2 separate regions of the Homo sapiens genome follow, and region 2 is linked to region 1. The links are contacts of gene promoters, found by promoter capture Hi-C in blood cells and fetal thymus (Javierre and others, 2016). All regions are on one chromosome and are shown on one strand. Each heading gives the region's core, a stretch centred on a gene start or on the middle of the fragment in contact. The rest is flanking DNA. Distances are from core to core; before and after follow the strand shown.

What was found. The method cuts DNA at HindIII sites, captures the fragments that hold promoters and counts their contacts. A CHiCAGO score of 5 or more calls a contact.
Region 2: a contact is called between a fragment that was not itself captured here and the fragment with the promoter of MYG1 in region 1, in 2 of 17 cell types (total CD8 T cells and naive CD8 T cells). The highest score is 5.3, in total CD8 T cells.

Annotation. Positions count from the first base shown.
Region 1 is chr12:53,296,768-53,303,157 of GRCh38, reverse strand. MYG1 (MYG1 exonuclease) reads right to left here and starts at 3,463. Exons shown (of 7, transcript NM_021640.4): 1 at 3,205-3,463; 2 at 2,896-3,008; 3 at 1-124. The coding sequence starts at 3,420. It overlaps PFDN5 (prefoldin subunit 5), which reads right to left. Exons shown (of 6, transcript NM_002624.4): 4 at 5,234-5,308; 5 at 5,008-5,113; 6 at 3,708-3,889. The coding sequence ends at 3,813. RefSeq lists enhancers at 3,239-3,418, 3,489-3,548, 3,359-3,653, 3,559-3,658, 3,699-3,788 and 1 more. The HindIII fragment of the contact is 10,124 bases long and covers 1-4,655 here.
Region 2 is chr12:53,128,343-53,134,732 of GRCh38, reverse strand. It overlaps the pseudogene VTI1BP3. Among named protein-coding and RNA genes, the nearest start is that of SOAT2, 28 kb to the right of the region's middle. The HindIII fragment of the contact is 347 bases long and covers 2,823-3,169 here.

The DNA.
Region 1 (6,390 bases), core at 2,214-4,713:
ACTAGTGCCCAGCAACTGGGCCAGCAGCTTGTGCCCGAAGTGCAGATAGATGAGTCCCGCACTGCTCAGCTTGGTCTGCCACGGCTTCCCAGGGGACAGGGAGCTCATGGTCTCTGTGAAAGACCTGAGGAGCATAGGGAGGTGGGGCTGAGGTGAGGGACCTTGGCTAGAGTCTCCATGCATTCATTCAATGGTTAACTCAATGCTTCCTATCTGCCACATTTTATGTTTTATTAGACATTAAGGATAAAAAACCAAGACACTGTCCTTGCTTTCAGATTCATCTGCCGGAGGCCGACAAACACAACCCCCTGAGTACTCTCACTAGACGAGACAAGGGAAAGGAAGGAAGGGATGAGGAAAGGGTTCAGAGGAGAGCCTTCAGGTCAGTTCTGAAAGATGAATTAGTGGGTGTCCACCAGATAGACAAGGGGTGAAAGAGAAAAAGCATTCCAAGCAGAGAGAACAACATGAATGATGGCTGAGAGACAAGTGTCTTGATGGAACTTCAGCAAAGGCAGCTCAGGTGTGAGAAGTGAATGGCAAAAGAAAAAGCTGGAAGGGCAGGCAGGGCCAGACCATCGGACTTTATCTGTGGGTAATCGAAGTCATTGGGGGATTTTAAGCAGGCAGGTGCATGTTACAGCATTGCACCAGCCAGCATGGAGAACAGATGCAAGGAGATTACCTGCAATGGTTCAGGTGAATAAAGAAGGCAAGAATTTGAACAGCAGTGGGGCAGAAAATAGAGAAAAGATATAACAGATGTTAGGGAAGCAGAAACTACAGCCATGATTTCTAAATACCAGTCCATCTCAGAATTACCTAGGGAGCTCCATTTGTTAACTGACTTTTATTATTAAATATTGAGTAAATACAGGCTGGGCTCAGTGGCTCACACCTCTAATCCCAACACTTTGGGAGGCCAAGGCGTGATCACTTGAGGTCAGTAGTTTGAGACCAGCCTGGCCAACATGCTGAAACTCTGTTTCTACTAAGAATGGAAAAATTAGCCGGACATGGTGGCACACGCCTGTAGTCCCAGCTTCTTGGGAAGCTGAGGCAGGAGAATTACTTGAATCTGGGAGGTGGAGGTTGAAGTGAGCTGAGTGCCACTGCACTCCAGCCTGGGCAACAATAGCGAAACTCCATCTCAAAAAAAGTAAAAATAAAAAAAATGAGGCTGGGCATGGTGGCTCACACCTGCAATCCTAGCACTTTGGGAGACTGAGGCGGGTGGATCACCTGAGGTTAGGAGTTCAAGACCAGACTGGCCAACATAGTGAAACACTGTCTCTCCTAAAAATACAAAAATTAGCTGGGCGCCTGTAGTCTCAGCTACTTGGGAGGCTGAGGCAGGAGAATCACTTGAACCCAGCAGACGGAGGTTGCAGTGAGTCGAGATCACATCACTGCACTCCAGCCTGGGTGACAGACGAGACTCCATCTTAAAAACAATTTGATAAAAGGAAGTGGTCAATAATGCCAAGTGCTAAAGAGATCAGTTGAGACCCTTTACCAGCTCCCTGGTTTGGTGCTGAGGTAACTGGTGCCCTTCTGCCGAGCAGTTCCAGAGAAGACACTGGGAGAGTGGGCTTGAGGGGAATGAACTGGAAAGGAACAGGTGAAGCCACGGTCAGCTGTTTTTTGAAGGGTGGCTGAGAAGCAAGGGTGAGAGCTTAGGCTGTAAATATTGGGAGGGTTTCTTCCTGACATCATTTATAATATGTATGCTAAAAAAAGAAAAAAGGAGAGAGACTTAAAACATCATAATCCCTCTCTCCAAGATAATTACTTCTCGTGGTGTGGTATAATTGAGGGAGGGTTTTGTTTTTACACCTGTGTTTCTTTTCAAGATGGAAGATACTTGAGAAGGGTTTTAGGCTGTAGGGAAGGAGAGGCAGAGACACTAGTGGAACTGTGACATGAAATCCCAGAGGATAGGCCAACAGTGGCTCACACCTGTAATCCCAGCACTTTGGGAGGCCAAGGCGGGGCAGATCACAAGGCCAGGAGTTCGAGACCACTCTGGCCAATATGGTGAAACCCGTCTCTACTAAAAATACAAAAATTAGCCGGGTGTGGTGGTGGGTGCCTGTAGTCCCAGCTACTCGGGAGGCTGAGACAGGAGAATCGCTTGAACCTGGGAGACAGAGGTTGCAGTGAGCCGAGATCGTGCCACTACACTCCAGCTTGGGCGACAGTGGGAGACTCCGTCTCAAAAAAAAAAAAAAAGAAAAGAAAAAAGAATCCCAGAGAAGAAAGTAATAGACTGGAAACAGGACAGAGGATTAACCTCCAATAGAAGGGAAGAAATTTCCCTTAGTTGGTAGGAGGGAGCTGAGGATGTTTGAGGTGGGAGACTGAGGAAATGCTCAACTTCTTTTGAAAAGAGGCAGGGACACTCAGTTTGATGCGGTAGAGGCTTGAGGGAGAAGAAAAGGATTGGAATGGGCTACCCTTGAGCAAGAAGGATTTCCCTTTGGAAGGGTGTAAATGAAGTAGAAAACTTCACACATCTGAACTGTCACCAACTGCCACAATCATGTGGGCCCAGCAGTTAGGTGCAGCAGCAAGGGCACCAGAATGGATTAATCACAGATGGGTTTATTTAGTTGGGGTGATGAAGTTGCTGATGGAAAAAAAGCCTTGGCTAAGGAAGGAGATGAGATAAGGGGCCTGAGGGACTCCCTGGGAACCAAAGGAGGTCCCAGGCCAGGGAGATGGGTGAAGAACAGGCAGGGCCGGAAGGATGATGTAGTCCTAGTGGGAGTTTGATTTCAGTGATGAAGCAGTTCTTTTCGCTGACGCGGACTACGGCAGTGGATGGCTGAATTGGAGCACAGAGGAAAGCTGAGGTCAAGGAAGTTAAATAAATGGTATCTGAGAACCTACCTCTGGTGATGGTCATATCGGTGTCTCCGAGGGTCGTACTCGCCCCCCACGTCCACCACGATGTCACAGGAAGCGAGTTTTTCGGGATCCCGGGTCCGCACAATCTCTGCATCCTGCGAGGTACACAGGGGTGAAGGGGCTGCCGGGTGTCGCCGGGTAGGGGATTAATGCTGGACTTCAGGGAGGCAGGAAGGGTAGGAAGGGTGCTTGGGCTGCCGGGCGCTATCGGAGTGACCCTGTTGGCGGAATGCCATCCACCCCGGAGGCATGCATGCACGCAGTCCCAGGGTCACTTTTCGCGGACCGTACCCGGTACTCCGGCAGGAGGCGAAGCAGTGCGCATGCCAGTGCCTCGTCGCAGTGGAAGGTGCCATTGTGCGTCCCGATTCGGGGCGGTGCCATGAGTTTGCTGCGGGATCGTTTTGGGGGCGGGACGGACTCTGGACCGAGCATGCGGTGCCGGGTATACAGGGGTGGCGGCGGCAGCAGCAGCGTTAAGAGGCCGCGCAGGAATTGGTGTCCCATAAGCAGCTCCCTGCAGGGAGGCAGGAGCGCCGACCCGGAAGAGGAAGCGCCAGCGCAGCCCCACTTCCGCTTGCCAACCGTTCCCTTGGCAACCAGCTCTGCAGAGTGAGCAGCAGCAGACTCCCAGCCTAGGATTTCTTCCAGCTGGTCAAAGGGCCCTGCGATGGAGCCTCCAAGAGGCGCATCGCATCACCCCTGCGCATCAGGCTCTGAGACGGGGCCCACACTCTCGACCACACCCCCCATCTCATCACCAGTCCCTTGCTTAATCCAAGAAAAGACCAACATTCTGCCCAGCTGGCACATTTATTGGCATTAAAACACAAGACCCTTCCCATCACCAGGAAGCCACGCCCAAAGGGTGTCCCTCTGCCCCATTTCTGCAAAAACTCTCAGGCCTTAGCAGTAGCCTGAGCTGCCCCCAGGGCTGTGAGCTGCTGAATCTTCTGACTCATCATTTCCATGACGGCTGTGGAAAAAAATAAGAGTCAAAGGTTAGAAGCAAAAAGGAGAACCTAGAGTTAAGGAGAAGTGACAGGCAAGTTTAAGGACAGGCGACCGACTAACTACAGTTTGTTAATAACCTTTTTTTTTTTTTTTTGAGACAGAATCCTGCTCTTGTCACCGAGGCTGGAGTGCAGTGGCACGATCTTGGCTCACAGCAACCTCCGTCTCCCGGGTTCAAGCGATTCTCCTGCCTCATCCTCCCGAACAGCTGGGATTACAGGCATGCACCACCATGCCCGGGCTAACTTTGTATTTTTAGTAGAGATGGGGTTTCACCATGGTGGCCAGGCTGGTCTTGAACTCCTAACCTCAGGTGATCCACCTGCCTTGGCCTCCCAAAGTGCTGGGATTACAGGCGTCAGCCACTGCGCCTGGCATTGTTAATAAAACTTTAACTCAGTGATCCACTGTGGGGTCACTAACACAAATTTAGGGTCTACAATGCATCGGTCAATATGCTAACACAGCTGGGTGTGGTGAGAATGAGACTCTTCTCGGAAAAAAAAAAAACCTGCTAACCAAAGATATAAAAACGAACACAATATGGTATTAAATGAGTCTGACATAATCAGAAAACTATGATGGGGAAAGATTTTTACCTTTGGAACACTGGTTCTGAATCCTGATTATAACAGAGGGGAGCTTTTTTAAAAAAAAACAGACCTTGGTACAACTTCCCCTCCTTTGACTTCCAAGTTGATTTAGTCAATCTGGAATGGGCCCAAGCTTTCTTTTTAAACTTCCTGAGTGATTCTCATGTGCAGTCGGGGTTATAATTGCTGGTATTTAGTTCGTTTGGATCATGATTCCTTCCTGTGTGTTCATCTCATTCCCCCATTCCATCGTCATTAAATAGGAGCTCCACCAAAGCACAAACATGATTTCCTTCCTCTAAATTTCTCAAACGCTCAACCCAGGAATCTACAGATAGTGATTATGCAATACACAGATTCTAAAGATGCCAAAGAGAAACTAAGACATAGTTTTACTCCAGCAAAGGGGACACCCCCGTGGTTCACACTGCAATCCATGTTCCTTATTATGGAGATAGGGTCAAGAGGTGCCCCAGGAAAAACTTACCCTGTTTCATGGCGTGCTTCTCCTGAAGAGCTGGTTGGATTTTCTCCATCTGCTTGGTTAGAAAATCTATCTTCCTCTTGAAGAAGTCCTTGGCATCCTCAGCTGTCTACAAGATCAGAGGTGAATAAGGGGCTAAAAGGAGACTCCCTCTGGCCATGCTGCGCTCTAGAGCTTCCCCTGAATTTCCCTTCCCTGTTTAGAGGGGCATCCACATGCTCTCACTCACCTTCTCTACATAGTACCCAGTTCCCACATCGATGAGCACGTGTTCCACATCATGCAGCTTCCCAGGGACATACATCTGAGAAGCAAGAATTAAGGGAAAAACTAGCCAGCCCAGCATGAGCCATGATTCCGCCAGCCAGCCTGCTTGGCCTCCAAAGACCCTCTTTTTCCAAAAAGCTACAAGGCATAAGGACTGAATAATCTGGAGGCCTTAGAACAATACCTATAACTCCAAATGGAAAGAAGACAGAGAAGTTGGTTCTTTAAGGAGAAAATGATGTATGCTGGAACACCCTCTTGTCCTGCCTCATCCCATCTCTCACTCTCTAAGCAGTTCTTGCAATTCTTCCCATTAGCCCCTCCAGAAAGACTAGACATGTTTTCCTACTGTTGTAGAGTACTACAAGTAAAAAGCCAGCCTCATTTCCCTTAATGCCCTCAATCATGAAGTAGCTAATTCCTGACAAAGTCAATGTTTTGTTTGTTTTTTGCTTTCTGAGACAGAGTCTCGCTCTATCGCCCAGGTTGGAGTGCAATTGCCCGCTATCGGCTCACTGCAACCTCTGCCTCTCGGGTTAAAGCAATTCTCCTGTCTCAGTCGCCGGAGTAGCTGGGATTACAAGCATGTGCCACCACGCCTGGCTAATTTTTGTATATTTAGTAAAGACAGGGTTTCACCATGTTGGCCAGACCGATCTCTAACTCCTGACCTCAGGTGATCTGCCAGCCTTGGCCTCCCAAAGTGCTGGGATTACAGGCGTGAACCACTGTGCCTGGCTAATTTTTTTTTTTAAACCATTCCCTACTACACACTACTATTCCTGTGTTCCTTTTAGCCTGTCAGTTCTGAGACTACAGATTAAAGATGCCCTACTGCCATAACTTGCTCATTCAAATAAAACACTGAACAAGTGAACACAATCCAGGTTTCTTAGTGACAGTTTAGAAATGAGCCACAATTAAGCTGAAGTTGAAGATTAACAGAGCCAAGCTCCCTGTTTCTATATCCTCCTATTTTTGTCTATTGCCTGTATCTTCTAAGATATTAGCAAAGTGTAAACCACCAGCTTTATCTCCATATTAATGTTCTCAAACAGCAAAGGGAAATATTACATCTCAACTATACATACTCCTTGGTGTTCACAAGACATTAGCTGG
Region 2 (6,390 bases), core at 1,747-4,246, 170 kb after region 1:
TAACTCTTACAACTCAATAATATAAGGACAAATACATAAAATAAAAATAAAGACAAATAAATAAAATAAATAAAAATAGGCTAAGGATTTGAATAGACATTTCTCCAAAGAAGCTGTACAAATGGCCAGTAAGCACATGACAAGATGCTCAACATCATTAGTTGTCAGGGAAATGCAAATCAAAACCACAATGAGATACCACTTCATATGAAGACGGCTATAATCAAAAAGAGATAATAACGAAGTGTTGGTGAGTATGTGGGAAGTTGGAACCCTCATACACTGCTGGCAGGATTATAAACCGGTGCAGCCACTTTGGAAAATGGTCTAGCAGTTCCTCAAACGATTAAATGCAGAATTATCATATGACCCAGTAATTCCACTTCCAGGTATATAGCCAAGAGAAATAAAACACATTTATTGAGGCAAAGAGTTGCACACAAACATTCATAGCAGCTTTATTCAGAATAGCCAAAATAGTGGAAAAAACTCAATTCCATTACTGGTGAATGGATATATGAAATGTGGTATATCTATACAATGGAATATAATTTGACAATAAGAAAGAACATCAAGCACTTGTGAGTCAAAAAAAGAAATAAAGGACTGGGTGCGGTCTTTATTTCTATAGGCTCACACCTGTAGTCCCAACACTCTGGAAGGCGGAGGCAGCAAATTGCTTGGCTGGGGAGTCCGAGATAAATCTGGGCAACATAGTGAGACCTTGTTCTATTAAAAAAAAATACAAAAAAGTTAGCCAGACATGGTGGTGGCCCACTTCCAGTTGCAGCTACTCAGGAAGCTGAGGTGGGAGGATTGTTTGAGCCTGGGAGGTCAAAGTTGCAGTGAACCATGATCAGGCCATTGAACTCCAACCTGGGCAACAGAGGGAGACCTTGTCTTGAAAAAAAGAAAAAGAAATGAAGTATGGTATATGCTAAAACATGATTGAATCTTCAAAACAGGTTAAGAAGAAGGCCATCTCAGAGGACCACATTGGGTATGATTTCATTTATTGGTTGATTGTTATTTTTGAGACAGGGTCTCACTCTGTCACCAGGCTGGAGTGCAGGGCCCAATGTTGACTCACTGCAGCCTCGACCTCCTGAACCCAGGTGATTCTCCCTTGCTCAGCCTCTAGAGTAGCTGGGACCACAGGCATGCACCACCACGCTCAGCTAATTTTGTATTTTTTTTAGTAGAGACGGGTTTTCACCATGTTGGCCAGGCTGGTCTTGAACTCCTGAGCTCAAGCAATCTGTCCACCTCGGCCTCCCAAAGTGCTGGAATTGCACGCATGCGGCACCACATGCGGCACTTTTTTTTTTTTTTTTTCTGAGATGGAGTTTCACTCTTGTTGCCCAGGCTAGAGTGCGATTGCATGATCTTGGCTCACCGAAACCTCCGCCTCCTGGGCCCAAGCGATTCTCCTGTCTCAGCCTCCCGAGTAGCTGGGATTACAGGCATGTGCCACCATGCCCAGCTAATTTTGTAATTTTAGTAGAGACAGGGTTTCTCCATGTTGGTCAGGCTGGTCTCGAACCCTCAAACTCAGGTGATCTGCCCGCCTCAGGCTCCCAAAGTGTTGGGATTACAGGTGTGAGCCACCGTGCCTGGCCTTTTTTTTTTTTTTTTTTTGAGAGAGTCTCATTCTATCGCCCAGGCTAGAGCGCAGTGGCACAATCTCAACTCACTGCAACCTCTGCCTCCCGGGTTCAAGCGATTCTCCTGCCTCAGCCTCCAGAGTAGCTGGGATTATGGGTGCACACCACCATGCCCAGCTAATTTTTGGTATTTTTAGTAGAGACAGGGTTTCACCATGTTGGCCAGGCTGGTCTTGAACTCCTGACCTCAGGTGATCCTCCCACCTCGGCCTCCCAAAGTGCTGGGATTACAGGTGTGAGCCACCACGCCCAGCCTTGGCATATTCTTAAAAATTAATTAATTAATTTTGTTTTTGGAGACAAGGTCTCACTCTGTCACCCAGGCTGGAGTGCAGTGGCACTATCATAGCTCACTGCAGCCTCAGACTCCTGGTCTCAAGGAGTTCTCCTGCCTCAGCCTTCTAAGTAGCTGGGACTACAGATGTGGCCTCCGCACCTGGCTAATTTTTTTTTATTTTTGGTAGAGATGAGTTCTTGCTATGTTGGCCAGGCTTATGTATTTTTAAAGAAGTCATGGCCGGGCGCGGTGGCTCATGCCTGTAATCCCAGCACTTTGGGAGGCCAAGGCGGGCAGATCACGAGGTCAGGAGATCGAGACTATCCTGGCTAACATGGTGAAACCCTGTCTCCACTAAAAATACAAAAAATTAGCCAGGCGTGGTGGCGGGCACCCGTAGTCCCAGTTACTCTGAAGGCTGAGGCGGGAGAATGGCGTGAACCCAGAAGGTGGAGTTTGCAGTGAGCCGAGATCACGCCATAGCACTCCAGCCTGGACGACAGAGTGAGACTCTGTCTCAAAAACAAAAACAAAAACAAAACAAAACAAAACAAAAAACCAACAACAAAAAAAGAAGTCATAAACAGCATTATTACCTTGGTATATCATACTGGTCTTGTTGCTGTCACTTCACAGTTAAGTGGCTTTCCACCTTTCCTCCCTTCTCCCCCACAGTCTGGCTACGCAGTGCATCCTTGAACTGTTAGCCCACAGGAGCAACATGCTTATTCCATCCACATCCCTAACACCATGCATTCCCAAGGTCAAAGTTCTGGTCCACAATCCTTCCCTATTGCAAGTCCCATGCTTGCAAAAGAACACAAAGTAAACCAAGCCTCCCAGGATGGCTAGCTCCAGTGAGATGATGGAAAGCAGAAGCTTGTTGGTTATCACTTTTCTGGACTTAGAAGAGAGAATCTTTCGACTTTTGAACAAGTTTTCACTTGCGTTTCCCAGTGTACTCTTGGTACGTTCTCACTGGTCCCGTTGGTTCCCCAGCTCTTCTGAGATTTCTGAGCCAATCTGGTCAGTCTCTTGGGTGGCCCGGCCCAGGCTTTTGGTGCCTTGGAGAAGCATTGCCCTTTGAGACTGTAGCCTATTCATATGCTCATTCTCTACAGCATATGTGCCATATTTCATGTCTCCTCGGTCCCCAGGCATGGCTGCAAAGGTGTACTTCTTGCCTCCAGATGGAATTGGGCAAGGTCCTTCTGATAGTCTTGAAGCTTAGACATCATGGGGTTATGGAAAGATACGGGTGCATAATGTAGTTCCTCCTCCATCTGTGTCAGCATTTTGTTTGCTTCCTGTTGCTTTTCATCAAAATCTCTGATCAGCTTCTCCTGGGTCCCTGCCATACCCAGCAGCCACTAGTGCACCCCTTGGAGGCACATCTCGTGCAGCTGCTCAAAACGCTCCAAGGAGGTGGCAGAGAGAGGCATGGTGTAGGCGGTGCTTCAGCAGCGCCCACCAAGATTCTGGGCACTGGGCCCTCTCCTAGCTTGTCAGTCAGCAGCCCTGGCCTGTAGCCATCCCCACCACTGATGCCTGATTTCATTTATGTGAAATATCCAGAATAGGCCATGCATGGTGGCTCATGCCTGTAATCCCAGCACTTTGGGAGGCTGAGGTGGGCAGATCACTTGAGCCCAGGAGTTTGAGACCAGCTTGGCAACATGGCAAAACCCCATCTCTACAAAAATAATTTTTTAAGTACAAAATCTAGCTGGGTGTGGTGGTGTGCACCTGTGGTCTCCGCTACTCAGGAGACTGAGGTAGGAGGATTGCTTGTGCGAGGAGTTCAATGTCGCAGTGAGCTATGATGGCACCACTGTACCCAGAAACCACTGTCTGGGTGACAGAATGAGACCTTGTCTCAAAAAAAAAAACAGAAAAAAGAAAAAGAAAAGAAATATCCAGAAAGTAAATCAGTGGTTGCCCAAGGCTGGGAGGTTTTCGGGACATGGAGAGTGACTACTAGTAGGTATGAGATTTTGGGGGCCAGTGATGAAATGTGCTAACTGTGGTGATGGTTGCACAAATCTGAATATACTAACATTATTTTATTTATTTATTTATTTTGAGACGGAGTCTCGCTCTGTCACCCAGGCTGGAGTGCAGTGGTGCCATCTCGGCTCACTGCAAGCTCTTCCTCCCGGGTTCACACCATTCTCCTGCCTCAGCCTCCCGAGTAGCTGGGACTACAGGTGCCCGCCACCACGTCCAGCTAATTTTTTTTTTTTGTACTTTTAGTACAGACAGGGTTTCACCATGTTAGCCAGGATGGTCTCGATCTCCTGACCTCGTGATCCACCCACCTCGGCCTCCCAAAGTGCTGGGATTACAGGCTTGAGCCACTGCGCCCGGCCTATACTAACATTATTGACTTGCATACTTTAGGTGGACAAATTGTATGATATGTGAATTATATTTGAATAAAGCTGACTAAACCCTTTATATAAATTTAAAAGGTACAATAAAGCACTACATTTTCAAGAATCCATACAGATTTGTCATGTGTCAAAGTGGGTCCATCTGATGAGAGGGGAAATAACAGGAAGGCTTGTGTACTGGAGCAAATAACCCATATTAAAATATGAGAGGCCCCTTTGCAGACCTATGATCAACACTTGAGTGAATGTGAGGTGAAAAACCTCAACAGTGGGGACAGGCAACTCTTTGGAGAAGTGTGGCTGTGACAGGGAGCTGAGAAGTGGGACAGCAGCCTGATGTAGCTGTGGGGGAGGAGAGGGACAGTTAGACATAGGGAGAGTAGACTAGGAGCATAGCTGGCTGCTGTTGGGAGCAATCTAGTAGAAGGGAGAATGGAGGGATGGTGCCAGAGCTGCTGATATCATTGAGTGAGATGGTAGGAGGAGAGGGAAGAGGGCGAATTTCTTCAGTTAACAGGAAGGAATTGGGGCAGAGGAGAGCTGCTGGGGAGTTCTGTGGGCTTGGAGAGGGATGATGGGAGAAGAGAGAATGAATGATATAGTTCCTTTGAAGAATGGAAAGGAAATCCTGGCCAGGCATGGTGGCTCACGCCTGTAATTCCAACACTTTGGGAGGCTGAGGTGGGTGGATCACCTGAGGTCAGGAGGTCAAGACCAGCCTGGCCAATGTGGTGAAAACCCGTCTCTACTAAAAATACAAAAATTAGCCGGACATGGTGACATGCACCTGTAGTCCCAGCTATTCAGGAAGCTGAGGCATGAGAATCGCTTGAACCCAGAAGGCAGAGGTTGCAGTGAGTCAAGATTGCACCACTGCACTCCAGCCTGGGAGACAGAGCAAGACTCTGTCAAAAAAAAAAAAGGAAGAAAGAAAGAAAAAAAAGGAAATCCTGCATGCAGATTAAGATTAAGGTCATTGGACTTTGCTGAAATGCCCATTTGAAGCCTGTGTTGTAGAACGGTGGAGTGTGTGTTATGGAAGAGGAGCTCCGCATGGCAGAGCATGAGAGGAGCATGGATAGTGAGGTGTGGGGTGTTACAGAGGTCACAGACACTGGACAGCACAGATTCGGGAGGGGACCATAGGACAGCAGAGCGAGTGCTATAAGGGTCCCAGGACAGGCAAGGTGATTTAAAGAAGGGGAAACACTAGGCAAAATCAAAGGGGTGAAGGGAAGGTGTCTGTAACAAGCAGTTGGGTGCAGTCTGGGGACACACAGGGGACAACACTCGCAGACTGTAGACAGGAAGAAAGGTGGCTCTCAGCAGGGGAGGAAAGTCCTGCCGGGCAGCAGCCTCACCACCTACTGCCACCCTAGGTACTTCCCGAACCACAGCCCTCTGACCCCTGAGGATCCTGAAGGGAGGGCTGTGTGGGCACAAAGCTAATAATAAAAGGGTGTCCAAAGAGGAGGGGGGCCTGAGGCCATGCACAGATGGCAACTTCTGGTCTGACCCACCTTTACTCATCTTCAGGTGAGCCCAGTGGTGGTGTCCTGCCTGGAGTGCCTTCGGGTCCCCGCTGGTGCCTCCTCCTTAGACACACCTGGGCTCGTCAGGGATGCACCCATGAGCGTTTCGGTGGAGGAGGCGCCTGGATGGAGCTCATTCGTGTACAAGTCCCAGTACCGTGAACTAGTAGGAAGACTAAACATAAAACTAGGAGATAATTCCCTGACATTGGGTTAATTTCCTTACCATAAAAAGAATGTATAATTTTGGGCTGGGCGCGGTGACTCATGCATGTAATCCCAGAATTTTGAGAGGCTGAGGCAGGCAGATCACTTGAGTCCAGGAGTTCAAGACCAGCCTGGCCAACACAGTGAAATCCCATTTCTATTAAAAATAGAAAAAATTAGCCAGGTGCAGTGGGGCACACCTGTAACGCCAGCTACTCGGGAGGCAGAGGCATGAGAATCTCTTGAGCGGGAGGTTGCAGTGAGCTGAGATCGCACTCCTATACTCCAGCCTGGATGACAGAGCAAGATTTTGTCTC